Regions from separate parts of the Homo sapiens genome. Here region 1 is linked to region 2. Evidence: promoter capture Hi-C in human tissues and cell types (Jung and others, 2019). All regions are on one chromosome and are shown on one strand. The core of a region is centred on a gene start or on the middle of the fragment in contact, and the rest is flanking DNA. Distances in the headings are between cores, read along the strand shown.

What was found. The method cuts DNA at HindIII sites, captures the fragments that hold promoters and counts their contacts. A contact is called where the count stands out against the background at its distance.
Region 1: a fragment that was not itself captured here is called in contact with the fragment with the promoter of TMC2 in region 2 in 2 of the 25 tissues and cell types used here (aorta and spleen).

The regions. Positions count from the first base shown.
Region 1 is chr20:2,088,772-2,094,994 of GRCh38, forward strand. No RefSeq gene overlaps it. Among named protein-coding and RNA genes, the nearest start is that of STK35, 9.9 kb to the right of the region's middle. RefSeq lists an enhancer at 5,906-6,223. The HindIII fragment of the contact is 4,435 bases long and covers 651-5,085 here.
Region 2 is chr20:2,534,913-2,540,592 of GRCh38, forward strand. It overlaps TMC2 (transmembrane channel like 2), which reads left to right and starts at 1,661. Exons shown (of 20, transcript NM_080751.3): 1 at 1,661-1,743; 2 at 2,357-2,404. The coding sequence starts at 1,710. The region is part of intron 2 of LOC105372504 (a long non-coding RNA gene); the gene reads right to left. The HindIII fragment of the contact is 10,824 bases long and covers 1-5,680 here.

The sequences.
Region 1 (6,223 bases), core at 1,618-4,117, 440 kb before region 2:
CTTGTTTGATTTTTTCTACTCCAAGTATGCAGTACTTGCTTAAATACATAAACACACAGGTAGTGCCAGGTGCCTTCCATGCTTTATCTCACTAAATCTTCAGAATAACCTAGAAGGGAAGCACTCTTATTATTCCCAAGGCACAAGGAGGTTAAATCATTTTGGGGAGGGGCTGCAGGAGAGAGGGGAGAGAAGGAGACTTGATTTGTAGGGCTGCCCATTTCCATAGTGTGAATACTCTCACTGTGACTGATTTCAAGCTCCCAGCATGATGTCACTGAACAGAGTTGGAAAGAGAAGCTCACAGTCAGCTCTCAGAAGCACAGAAGAGCCAACTCCAGCACACACACCACTGTAGGGAACCTTGCACCTGTAAAGAAGGCACCATTGTCTCTTTCCACTTCATTCCTGAAAGAGTTGGTTTCCAAGAACAAAAGAAACGCAAGCAAATACATCACTTCAGGACCTAAAAGCAACTTTCCCGATCCTTATAAGTACTGGGGACTTCAGCTATAGTGTAAACAACACGCATTGTGTTGCAATGGATTTGAAACAGAAACCCAGAAATTAAAATTAAGCATCTGGGTTTTATATTTGCAAATTGCTTTGTCATTTTCTTTATGAAATACTGCACACAGCTATACCACCATAAGGCAATAAAAGAATAATAAATGAATCAGCGCTAGCATTCTGTCAGCACAGCTTCACACACTTATGGAGGGCCAGCAATCTAAATTAGGAAGGTGGTTTAGAAACTTTGTCAGTGCTTTAATGGAAGAGGTGAGTCAAGAGAATCAGACAGGCTTAGATTTGCATCCCAGTTCTACCACTTGCTGGGTACCTCGGACAAAGCACCTCACCTTCTGAGTCTCACCTTATTCATGTGTTAAGTGGGGATAATGCCCACCATACAGACTTCTACAGGCTGGTTGGAATGTTTAAGAAACAAAGTCTGGCCGGGAGTGGTGGCTCATACCTGTAATCCCAGCACTTTGGGAGGCTGAGGTGGGTAAATCGCTTGAGCTCAGGAGTTCAAGACCAGCCTGGGCGACATGGCAAAACCCAGTCTCTACAAAAATTAGCTGGGCGTGGTGGTAAGCACCTGTAGTCCCAGCTACTTGGGAGGCTGAGGCAAGAGGATCACCTGAGCCCAGGGAGGTCAAGGCTGCAGTGAGCTGTGATCACGCCACTGCACCCCAGCCTGGGCGACAGAGTGAGACCCTGTTTCAAAAAAAAAAAGAAAGAAAGAAAGAAATGAAATGAAGTTAACATACAGTATACACCTGGACATAACTCAAGGTGTTTTTTCCCCAAAAAAACTCTTAGAAGAGAGAGTTGCCTTATATTTAAGTTCTTATAAAAGCTCACAGAATCTTTCATATTCCCTAGACTCTCTCAATTACTTTCTTTTAAACAACAAGGTATTGTTGGAGGTAGGCCAATCTATAGAAGTCATCTGAAGGAAGTAGTTAAAAAAAAAGCAAGCAATTTTCGACATGGATGTAAGTCATTACACTGGGGACTGACCTCACACACTTTATAAAGATGTAAGCCTTAAGAAAGAGCACTTTTAAAAGCAATACATAAAATGTTTGGATGTTGTGATCACAAATATAAACCAATGGGAGAAATGGAAAAACAATCTGTCCTAAGATTTAGTGCACTGGGAATTCTAAGATAAAATATTTCAGAGAAAGCATCATATAGAGGCTCAAAAAGTACTGGATCACAATTTGGATAGGAGTGAAAATTATGTGACCTAGAAAGAAGGCTGAGCGACATAGAAATCATCCCCAGTGACTGAGATCAAAGGTGCTCAGAAAGAGATGAAAAGAATTGTTTTGTGAAATGGAAGAATGGGAGAAAATCCAATATTTCTCAATGTTGAAAGTGTGTATGTACCTAAAATAATAAATTAAATATTACACAGATATTTGATTATTTATACCACCTTAAGAATTTATATATTCAAGTTGAGACCCCAAATATTTTCTCTTCTGCAATCTTCTTAGTGTGACAAGTGAGAGGGACACCTTACATTTTGGGCCACCCTATGTTGAGACATGTCTAATAGGTGAAAGCACTTTAAATCCCACAAAGCTTTGTATGATTTGTGACAAGTACTGTTATGGTGGTTAATACTATTTTTATTATGACTTTTCTACCACAGGGTGGACTCTTTGGCTATGCTCCTCTAAGCACTTCTCCAGGTGGGACTCCCCTGAACTATTTCCAAGTTGTGGGAATTTTTTTTTTTTTTTTTTTTTTTGAGACGGAGTCTTGCTCTGTCGCCCAGGCTGGCTGGAGTGCAGTGGTACGATCTCAGCTCACTGCAACCTCCACCTCCTGGGTTCAAGCCATTCTCCTGCCTCAGCCTCCCAGGTAGCTGGGATTACAGGCATGCACCACAATGGCTGGCTAATTTTTGTATTTTTAGTAGAGATGGGGTTTCACCATGTTGGCCAGGCTGGTCTCGAACTCCTGACCTCAGGTCATCCACCTGCCTCAGCCTCCCAAAGCGCTGGGATTACAGGCATGAGCCACCGTGCCCGGCTAATTTCCTAGCTGTATGATCTTAAGCAAGCTGCATAACTTGTCTGTGTCTCTGTTTCCTCATCTGTCAAGTAGAGATAATAACAGGATTGAGAATTCAATAAATTATTATATTGAGAAGTGTTTATAACAGTGTCTGGTAAATGCTTCTTAAATGTTAGTTATTATTTTCAGCAAGGGAGAACTTAACTGTTTGTAAACACATCAGTTTTCTTCACCATATGATGAGATTTTACCACCAGGGACCCTGTCTTATTCATCCCAGGATCCCCAACTCAAACACGGGGGCTAACATATAGTAAATGTTTGCTGAACCTACAATAATTTCTATAAAGAAAGAAAGGTAGTATATAAAGTCCAGAGCCCAACACAGACCCTGGTTCCCATTAGTTGAAAGAGGCACACCGTGAGTGTTGATAACTGGCTCAGCCTCATTTCTCACTGACCAACCAAACTCTAAAACAGCATCACAGTGCGATAGAGCTGGAAAAGACTCAAGACTGGATGTTTCTTCGTGTCTTCTCTAAACAATGAGTTCCTCTACAATAGGAACTGAGTTCAATTCATCTCAGTCCCCAGTCTGGCAAACAGTAGGGGCTTAATAAGTACTCATTGACCAAATGAGTGATGAAGTACATTCTACACTATTGTACGTTACTTGTTTTTTAAACTGAATTTTATTTTTTTAAATACCTACAAAAAAGAACTCAAATTAATACCCAAATATGCACATAAAAACTTCAAATCATACAAAATTATCCTGAAAGTGAAAGAATCACCTAGGGAGAATTCTTGGCATCTAGAGTATTATTTATACAAATGTTTCCATTATGTATACAGAAATTAACATGTAAGTACAAACGCTGTATCATGTGCTAGTTCAAGATCAAGAGCTTTGGAATCAGATACACCAGGGTTGGAATCCAAGTTCCATCGCTTTTTAGTGGTATAGCCTTGAAAAAGTAATAACCTCTTTGTGCCTCAGTTTCTATGGAAAATAGAGCTAAAAATAAAACCTACCCTAAGGCTTATTGGATTAATTAATTAATTATTACATATGAGCACTTAGAACCATCAGAATACACAGAAGTAACTCAATGAAGGTTAGCAATTATGTATACATGTTTAAACAAAATGTGGTCATATTATAGATGCTTGTTTGCATTTGCTTTTTTATGTAACAAAATATTGTGTACATGTATTGTATGGTAGTACATACAGAGCTAACTCCTTCTTTTGATGGGCATGTATTTAAATATATGATGACCCTGTGTAACCAAGCCTCTACTTTTGGTATTGTTTCTAATATTTTATTATTATTTTATATATATATATATATATATCTCACCACAATAAAATCCTTGTTGCACATATATTTTTCCACACCATGTGAGTACTTCTATAGGATAAATTCCTAGAAACGGAATAGCTGATCAAAGTGTATTAATTTTTAATTATATTAATAAACAATGAGTTATCAATTTGCCTTTCTAAAAGACTGTATCACTTTACATTTTGATTAGTGAGTGTACTTTGTTGCCTTATGGTTGTGTACATTTTAACCAGACGCCCCAATAATTTATTTTGAATGTCCCAGTAGTTACAGAATTAAGGACTTTGCCCTGCTCATTTGGCATTATAGCCCTTTATCTTTCCAAAAATCATAAACAACTCCTAAGAACTTAGCAACCAATTTCCTGCAGCAAATATTCAGATACATAGCCTGACAAAAATTTGTATGCCATTCCCAAATGGGAGAGGAAGAAATGTCAGACATTTCTTAGCCTTTTCAGTGGCCAGTAGGAAGAACACTTGAAATTAGACCCATCTATTAAGTTTTGGAGACAGGGTGGCTGTTATCTGCACCCATCTTTGTTTTCTGTAACTGAGACCCTCATTTAATAGACAAGAAGCCTCTCTGTTGAGTATTACTGGGTGCAGTGTCTCTAATCCAGTGTTCCCCAAGTGTGATAAGGGTACTATTGTTAGCCCTCCAGATGTGTTTAGGTAATACAAGGAGGACAGGTGAACCCCTTGGCCAGAAGCTGAACAGCGCCACCAAGCTGACAGGCTGCTTCAGTGGTGGCTAAAGCTCATGCCCACTTTTAGTTTTAATTTCAATTTTAATCCAAATGATAAATAGACATAATGTTTGAGTTAGATACCATTACAAGTTAAATACTACCACAAAGCTTATAACAAAAATCCTGTTTCACCTCTGATCCCATCCCAGAAGCAGTAACTTTAATTCTGTAGTTATTTTTCCACACTTGATTATGGGATCGCTCCTTGATTTAAATTTTTTTTTATTAACTCACGGCTATGGAAGATAAGGATTTAGTTATCTCTCCTTTTCTTCCCCCTCCACCATACACACAGACACACTTTCCGTCTCCAAGTCTCCCAATATAATTATATCATAATTTTTGGTTAAGTCAAAGTGCTGTTTTACATGACAATGACAATGTAATATTATTTCCAGCTGAGTGTTGTAGTTTATGATGATTACAATGTTTTTCTTATCAATTGTTTTTGTTTTCTTGCCTTTAATAATCGCTTCATGTTTTATTTGCTTAGTTTCCTAGGTAATTCATTCAGCTCCTATTCATCCTCGAATTCTTACCAGAACTCAAATCCTCTCCAGTTCCCTCTGCTTTGTGCTCAGTCTAGGAACATGACAGTGTGATGTAGTGGTTCTCAAAGCATGGTTCCGGGATAACAGCGTCAACATCAGCATCATCTGCGACCGTGTCAGAAATGCAAATTATCAAGCTCTACCCGAGACTTACTGAATTAGTCGCACTGTGGGTGGCTCCAGCTATCTGGGTTTTAATCAGCTCTCCAGGTGATGCCAGTGGATTGGGCACTCAAGCTTGAGAGCCATAGGTCTAATGGTTGAAAACATGGATACCCAAACCTAAGGCTGCTGGGGTCCAAATACCAGGTATTCCGGTCATTGGTGATGTAGCAACTTCCAACCCTCAGTCTTCCTAGTTGTCTTTGTTTTTCTTTTGAGACAGAGTCTCACTCGTCGCCCAGGCTGGCGTGCAGGGCATGATCTTGGCTCACTGCAACATCTGCCTCCCAGGTTCCAGCAATTCTCCCACCCCAGCCTCCCAAGTAGCTGGGAGTACAGGCATGCGTCACCACGTCTGACTAATTTGTGTGTTTTCAGTAGAGACAGGGTCTCACCATGCTGGCCAGGCTGGTCTCAAACTCCTGGCTTCAGGTGACCCACCCACCTCTTCCTCCCAAACTGCTGGAATTACAGGCGTGAGCCACCACATGTGGCCAGTCTTCCCATCTATAAAATGGGGACGAAAACAGCCTCTCCCATATAGAGTTATTGCGAGTTGTGTGGTGTTAGGCATCATGACAAGCTCTAGCGTTTCCTGGAGACAGCCTTCCTGGAGCCCTCTGAAAATCCAGAGCCATTATGGGAGGGGAGCTCTCCAAGGCGACTGCACACACTCCTCCAGGCCTCCCTAGTACTCCCTGCTCAGGGGATCTCCTTCATTGAGGCAGCCACCTCAAGCTTCAGTCTTCAGCACCTCCTGCTCCCAAGATCCTCCTCCTATACCCCTGTGCCAGCCTCTCTGCCTTTAACCCTCTCCCACGCTCGGCTCCCCCTTCTACAACCACCACACCACCTCATTCCTAGCCCCTACCC
Region 2 (5,680 bases), core at 411-2,910:
CACCCACAGGAGACTTGCCCTGGGGAAGGCTTTTTATTCTGTTGTGTCATAGAATCCTTTGGCATCCTGGTAAGGTCCGTAGACCCCTTTTTATATTTTTTTTTATTTTTGAGACAGAGTCTCACTCTATCACCCAGGGAGTGCAGTGGTGCAATCTCAGCTCACTGCAACCTCCACCTCCTGGGTCAAGCAATTCTGCCTCAGCCTCCTGAGTAGCTGGGACTACAGACACATCCCACCACGCCCGGCTAATTTTTGCATTTTTAGTAGAGATGGGGTTTCACCATGTTGGCCAGACTGGTCCGGAACTCCCAACCCTAGGTGATCCGTCTGCCTTGGCCTCCCAAAATTCTGGGATTACAGGCGTGAACCACCACGCCCAGCCACAGACCGCTTTTCAGAACATAGACATTAAATCCATAAAATAAAACACTAGGATTACAAAGGAGACCAATGATCCTGAAATAGGCATCAAAATCACTTTAAATATCTTTCATATAATGACAATATATGCTTCCTAATTAAATAACAAGATTTCATGGCAGGTCTCTAACTATCATAATTTTGAAGTTGTGATAACATGTAAGATATTTTGAGACATCCCCAGTGGTTTAATTGGGAAAAAAAATAACTGTGACTTTTGCTGAGACAAAAATCACATCTTTGCTTACATTCATGATTGAGGGAAATGCTAAATCGCAGTTAAGGCTAGGAAAAGTGAAAGTGTAGTATTTTCTCCATCACTATTCACAAACCCACAGAATTCCATCCACAGCTCTGGGGGTTCCAGGGACTCCAGATTAAGAACTCCACACTCTGAGACCTTATGACTGCCTTCCAGAGGGTCCCTCTGACACTTTAGTGATGGTTTTCAAAGCAGCCAAATCTGTGCCTCCCTGAAGCCAGGGAGGAAAAGCTGCTGAGGGAGGGGGCGGGGGCTGAGCGGGAACATTCATCTGTGTGGGCTCAGGACGCCTGCAGCAGGATCCACAGTGCAGGCTCCCAGGGCCTGGCACAGACTGACTGATTCCAACGCCCAGTGCCACTCCTGGGAGTATGCATTTTATTTTTAAAAATTTATTATTATTATTTTTCTTTTTGTGGAGATGGGGTCTCACTACGTTGCACAGGCTGGTCTTGAGCTCTTGGGCTCAAGCAATCCTCCTGCCTCTGCCTTCCTAAGTGCTGAGATTACAGGTGTGAACCACCACATGCCAGAATCTGCATTTTAAACAGAAGCCCAAGTAATAACTTAAACAAACATTCTAGAATTTCCCTGGTGCTTTGTCCCAATCAGGGACTCAAGATAGTGGGAGAGGGCCTGGGATGCTCCTCACACCTCCTCTGGCTAGAGTGCCAGCGGCATCATTGCCAGGAGATAAGCCTGCAGCTCCTGGCCCCTCCAGGGCCCCTCATGTATAACTGATGCCTGAAACATGAGGCCATGCTGCCTCTTTGCAGGGAAACCTGAGAAGAGGAGTGTGTGGCCGGATTGATGGGCCGGGAACTCGTCGCCTTCCTTCACCCGTCTCTCTCCCCCAAACTTCACCCACCTCCACATTCAATCTCAAACCAAGAAGCCCCGCCTGCTGTCAGGTCTAGGAAGGGAGGCCAGCCACCATGAGGGCAGGAAAGCAGCCCAGGCTGAAGGCGTGCATACAGGAGCACGCTGCGTGAGCCTGTGCAGGACCCCAGCAGTGCTGCTGACCATGAGCCACCAGGTAAAGGGCCTGAAAGAGGAAGGTGAGTCCACGTCCTGATCCTGCGGGGCCCGCCCACAGGGTTCCTGGGCAGCAGCAGGGGATGGGGGAAGCACATATGGTGTTCAGAGGCATAGGGAGGAGCTGGGTTTGAGTCCAGGGCCTGTCCCCTGTGCGCTGAGCGACCTCGGCTGGTTATTCAACCTCTCTGATCCTCACGCATGAGATGGGGGTAGTCATCACCTCCTTGCAGGGCTACTGGAAGGATTCAAGACAACCTGTGCACAGCACCTGTGTTCAGGCCAGCACTGGAGACTGTCACGGCCGATGCATGCTCCTCAGAGCCTGCTGGGGCGTCTCAGCCACCTATTGTCTCGGTTAGGGTTGCCTGTTCCGAGCAAGCCCCTCAGCAGATTTCTATCTGTCTCTGTCTCTGTGCAGGGCAGGGGGTGGGGGATGTTCTGACCTCATGACTGACAGTATCAGACAAATGTGACAGGCAGGGGACTCTATAATTTGCTGAGTAAAATCATTGGAGCTGGGTCCCAGTTTGAGGCAGCCACAAATCAGCTGAGGGGTCCCACAGTGACCGGGGGTCTGCAGGGAGGGGGACTCACCAGAGGCCAGCCATTTGTCAGCAATCCTGTCTCTTACAGCACGAGGCGGAGTGAAAGGGCGGGTGAAGAGCGGCTCTCCACACACAGGTGAGATGGGGTGGTGGGGTCTCTGGGGAGCCTGCAGTGCCTGGGTGCCCTCTGCTTAGCCCAACAGTCCAGCCACCCATCCAACATTCTCCTTCATCTCCTTCCCTCTCATTCAACACCCTGCATGGAGCCTTCCTGGGAGGCAAGGTGTTTAACATGGGAGGGGGCAGAGTACCACTCAGAGAAGGTGCTGCTCAGCCCTCGGTGTCAGGGGAGACTCCCAGGGTTAGTGACACTCTGAGCTGAGCCTTGGGAAGCAGTGAACATTCACCAGACAGAGGGCAGGGAAGCTCGGTGCAGGCTTCTGGCGGGTGGTGTGGCCAGATTCACATCCAGGCCCCCGGACTCTAGGAGGAACACTCTTAACCTCCAAAAAGTAGTAGGCATAATGGGTGCTCCATCACCTTCCCACTGGGAATGTGACCACAGCTCTCCCGTGAGCCGGTGAGGGAGCCAACTTGCTCCAGGAGAAGTGGGAGAGCCCAAGGAAGCCATAGGCGGGAGAGAAAACCCTTGGTTGAGACTGAGGGTTCAGGGGAGAGGGGCAGAAGCCACACTCACAGGCTGGGCATCTTCATGTCACAAAATATTATGGATGCGATGCTGTTTTCTCCCCCTTCACGTCCCAGGCAGGGCTGGGTCCTGCGCCCCACACTAGTAGGCAAGAAACCAGAATCTTGGGGAGTGATGGGGTTCTGGGGGGTTGGAAGAGATCTCCTTCCTCCCCCATTCTGGGAGGGAGGGCCCTTTCCACTCCCTCCTGTGGGAGGGCCCTGTCCTGGCCCCACTCTGGCCAGTAGGGAGCTGGCCCCAGGAGCCACTTCATCTGCCCTTTCCGCTCCTGTGACCCGCTGCTGTCTGGTTGTCGGGAGCCTGAGCTTCAGTGAGGCCGCTGTGTTACAAGGGGAGAGACCCAGGAGCAGGAGGCAAGGAAGAGCTGGGCAGAGGCTGGCAGGGGGTGCAGCCATGGCATCTCAACAGCCCTTCCTGGCCCCTATCCCGGAACTTGCCTCAGCCACTGTCCCTTCTTCCTACCCCACCTGCCTGCCTCATCCACTCTTTATCTCAATCCAAAGATGAAGGAGCAAATGTGAGAAAGTTCTATGCCCCAGGGTGGCCAGACGAGAAACCTTCCTCCCGGGGGTCGGGCCACGGTGCTCCCGTAGTGACCACTGCCTGTAGGATGCTCAGGCTGGTTCTCCACACCCCACTCCCCTCGTAGTCATCCAGATGCCGTCCCTTCCGCACCCAGCCTGGCCTCCCTCTGCCTCTGCTGCAGGGCTGTGCTGTGCGGGACTCCCCTGTGAGCAGTAGTCCTTAGTAGGACTGAAATGGAAGACCATTTTGCCTACAACACAAACCCTTTCCTACTGAAATATTCCACGTTGCCGCTGCCGTTTTCCCTTTCCCATAGAACACAGGAAATTGGTCAGAATTTTCACTTCACAGATCTAAGTGGTGAAGGGGTGCAGTAAAGTTAAACATTGGGAATATATTGAATTAACTGAAACCCAGCCCCATGAAGGTTTCCATTTTAAATCTCCTCTGGAGTCACCTGCGACGGGACCTGATATTCTCATCCTTCCCTTTATACTCTACCAGGAGGGAATAAAAGTTTAAGAATACAATGTTCTTTTCTCAGAATAGCTACAGTTTGTTACTGTGTTCCTTGAAAAGAAGGATGAGAACTCTCCCTCCTCCTGTATCATTTGGTAAGTGCACTGAACTGTTGAGATCACGGGACTGGAGGGCTGCCGCAGCCTCTCCTCGGCCTGTGTTTTGCACTGTGAATTCTCTGACCGAGTCAGGTGCTACATAGGAGGAGGCCTGTTACATTTAGGAGAGCGTGTGCTGGGCTTGGAGGCCTTCCTAGCAAGACAGCTGCCTTTCCAGTTCCTAAATTATGCATTATGTGGAGTCTGTTGAAAACTGATTATGAAAGAGAAAAAAACAGCTTATTTTCTGTGTTGAAGAGGTCTGGGGAAGATTGAAGGGCAAATTCTGGCTTGTTTTCCACATTCCATGTGAATTTCGTTCAGTTGGAGAACTAAATTACAGCAGGAATTACAGCTCAGAAAAAAAATTGTAACACCAAATTATATCTACAGTGCTGGGAAGTATGCTTGGTACAGTTCATTACCACAATGAAAACCATTGTATTAGCTGACTGAGGACACAGAGAGAGCTCAGAAGAGGATGCAAACAATGACGTTCCTATTCAGTCCTTTCAAGCAACATAGAGCTGATCTTTATGGGACCCCAGGGAACCCTTCTCCATGATCCCTTGCCTTGATCTCTGCTTCTCTGCCCTTTCTGAGCACTGAACTCAGTCCTAGAGCTCTCTTAGGGGTCATGGCTGTGATAATATTTGTTTTGCTCCGTCCCTTTTGCAACAGGGGGCTACTGCCTTCCAGAGCATTGCGCTGGAGCATTTGTAAGACAAATCATACCTCACTGGCTAACACTGACTAGCTTCCTACCCTGGATAAATTATGCAAAAATAGTCTTTCTTTACGTTGTCTTATCAAAGACTATTTTTCCACAGGGAGTGAGAAGAAGAAAGAGGTTGGGGCAGGAGTGGGCTAAGGAAACCTGCTCTATGATAAATACAGGACAGGTTCTCTTAGCTCACTCCCGCAAATAGCACACAAGACTATTCTTTTCTTTTCTTTTCTTTTTTTTTTTTTTTTTTGAGATGGAGTCTTGCTCTGTTGCCCAGGCTAGAGTACAGTGATGTGATCTCAGCTCACTGCAACCTCTGCCTCCCAAGTTCAAGTGATTCTCCTGCCTCAGCCTCCCAGGTAGCTGGGATTACAGGTGCCTGCCACCACGCCCAGCTAATTTTTTGTATTTTTAGTAGAGACCGGGTTTCACCATCTTGGCCAGGCTGGTCTCAAACTCATACCTCGTGATCCACCCGCCTCAGCCTCCCAAAGTGCTGGGATTACAGGTGTGAGCCTCCGTGCCTGGCCGCAAGACTTTTCAATGCACCTATGCCAGTTATCTCATCAGTCCTGGCAGAAACCTCAGCATTTAAAACCGAGTCTCAAAGACATGGACATGGCCGGGCACAGTGGCTCATGACTGTAATCCCAGCACTTTGGGAGGCTGAGGTGGGGAGATCACTTAAGGTCAATAGTTCAAGACTAGCCTGGTCAACATGGTGAAACCCTGTCTCTACTAAAAATACAAAAATTAGCCAGGCTTGGTGGTGCATGCCTGTAGTCCTAGCTACTTGGGAGGCAGAGGTGAGAGAATCGCTTGAACCTGGGAGGC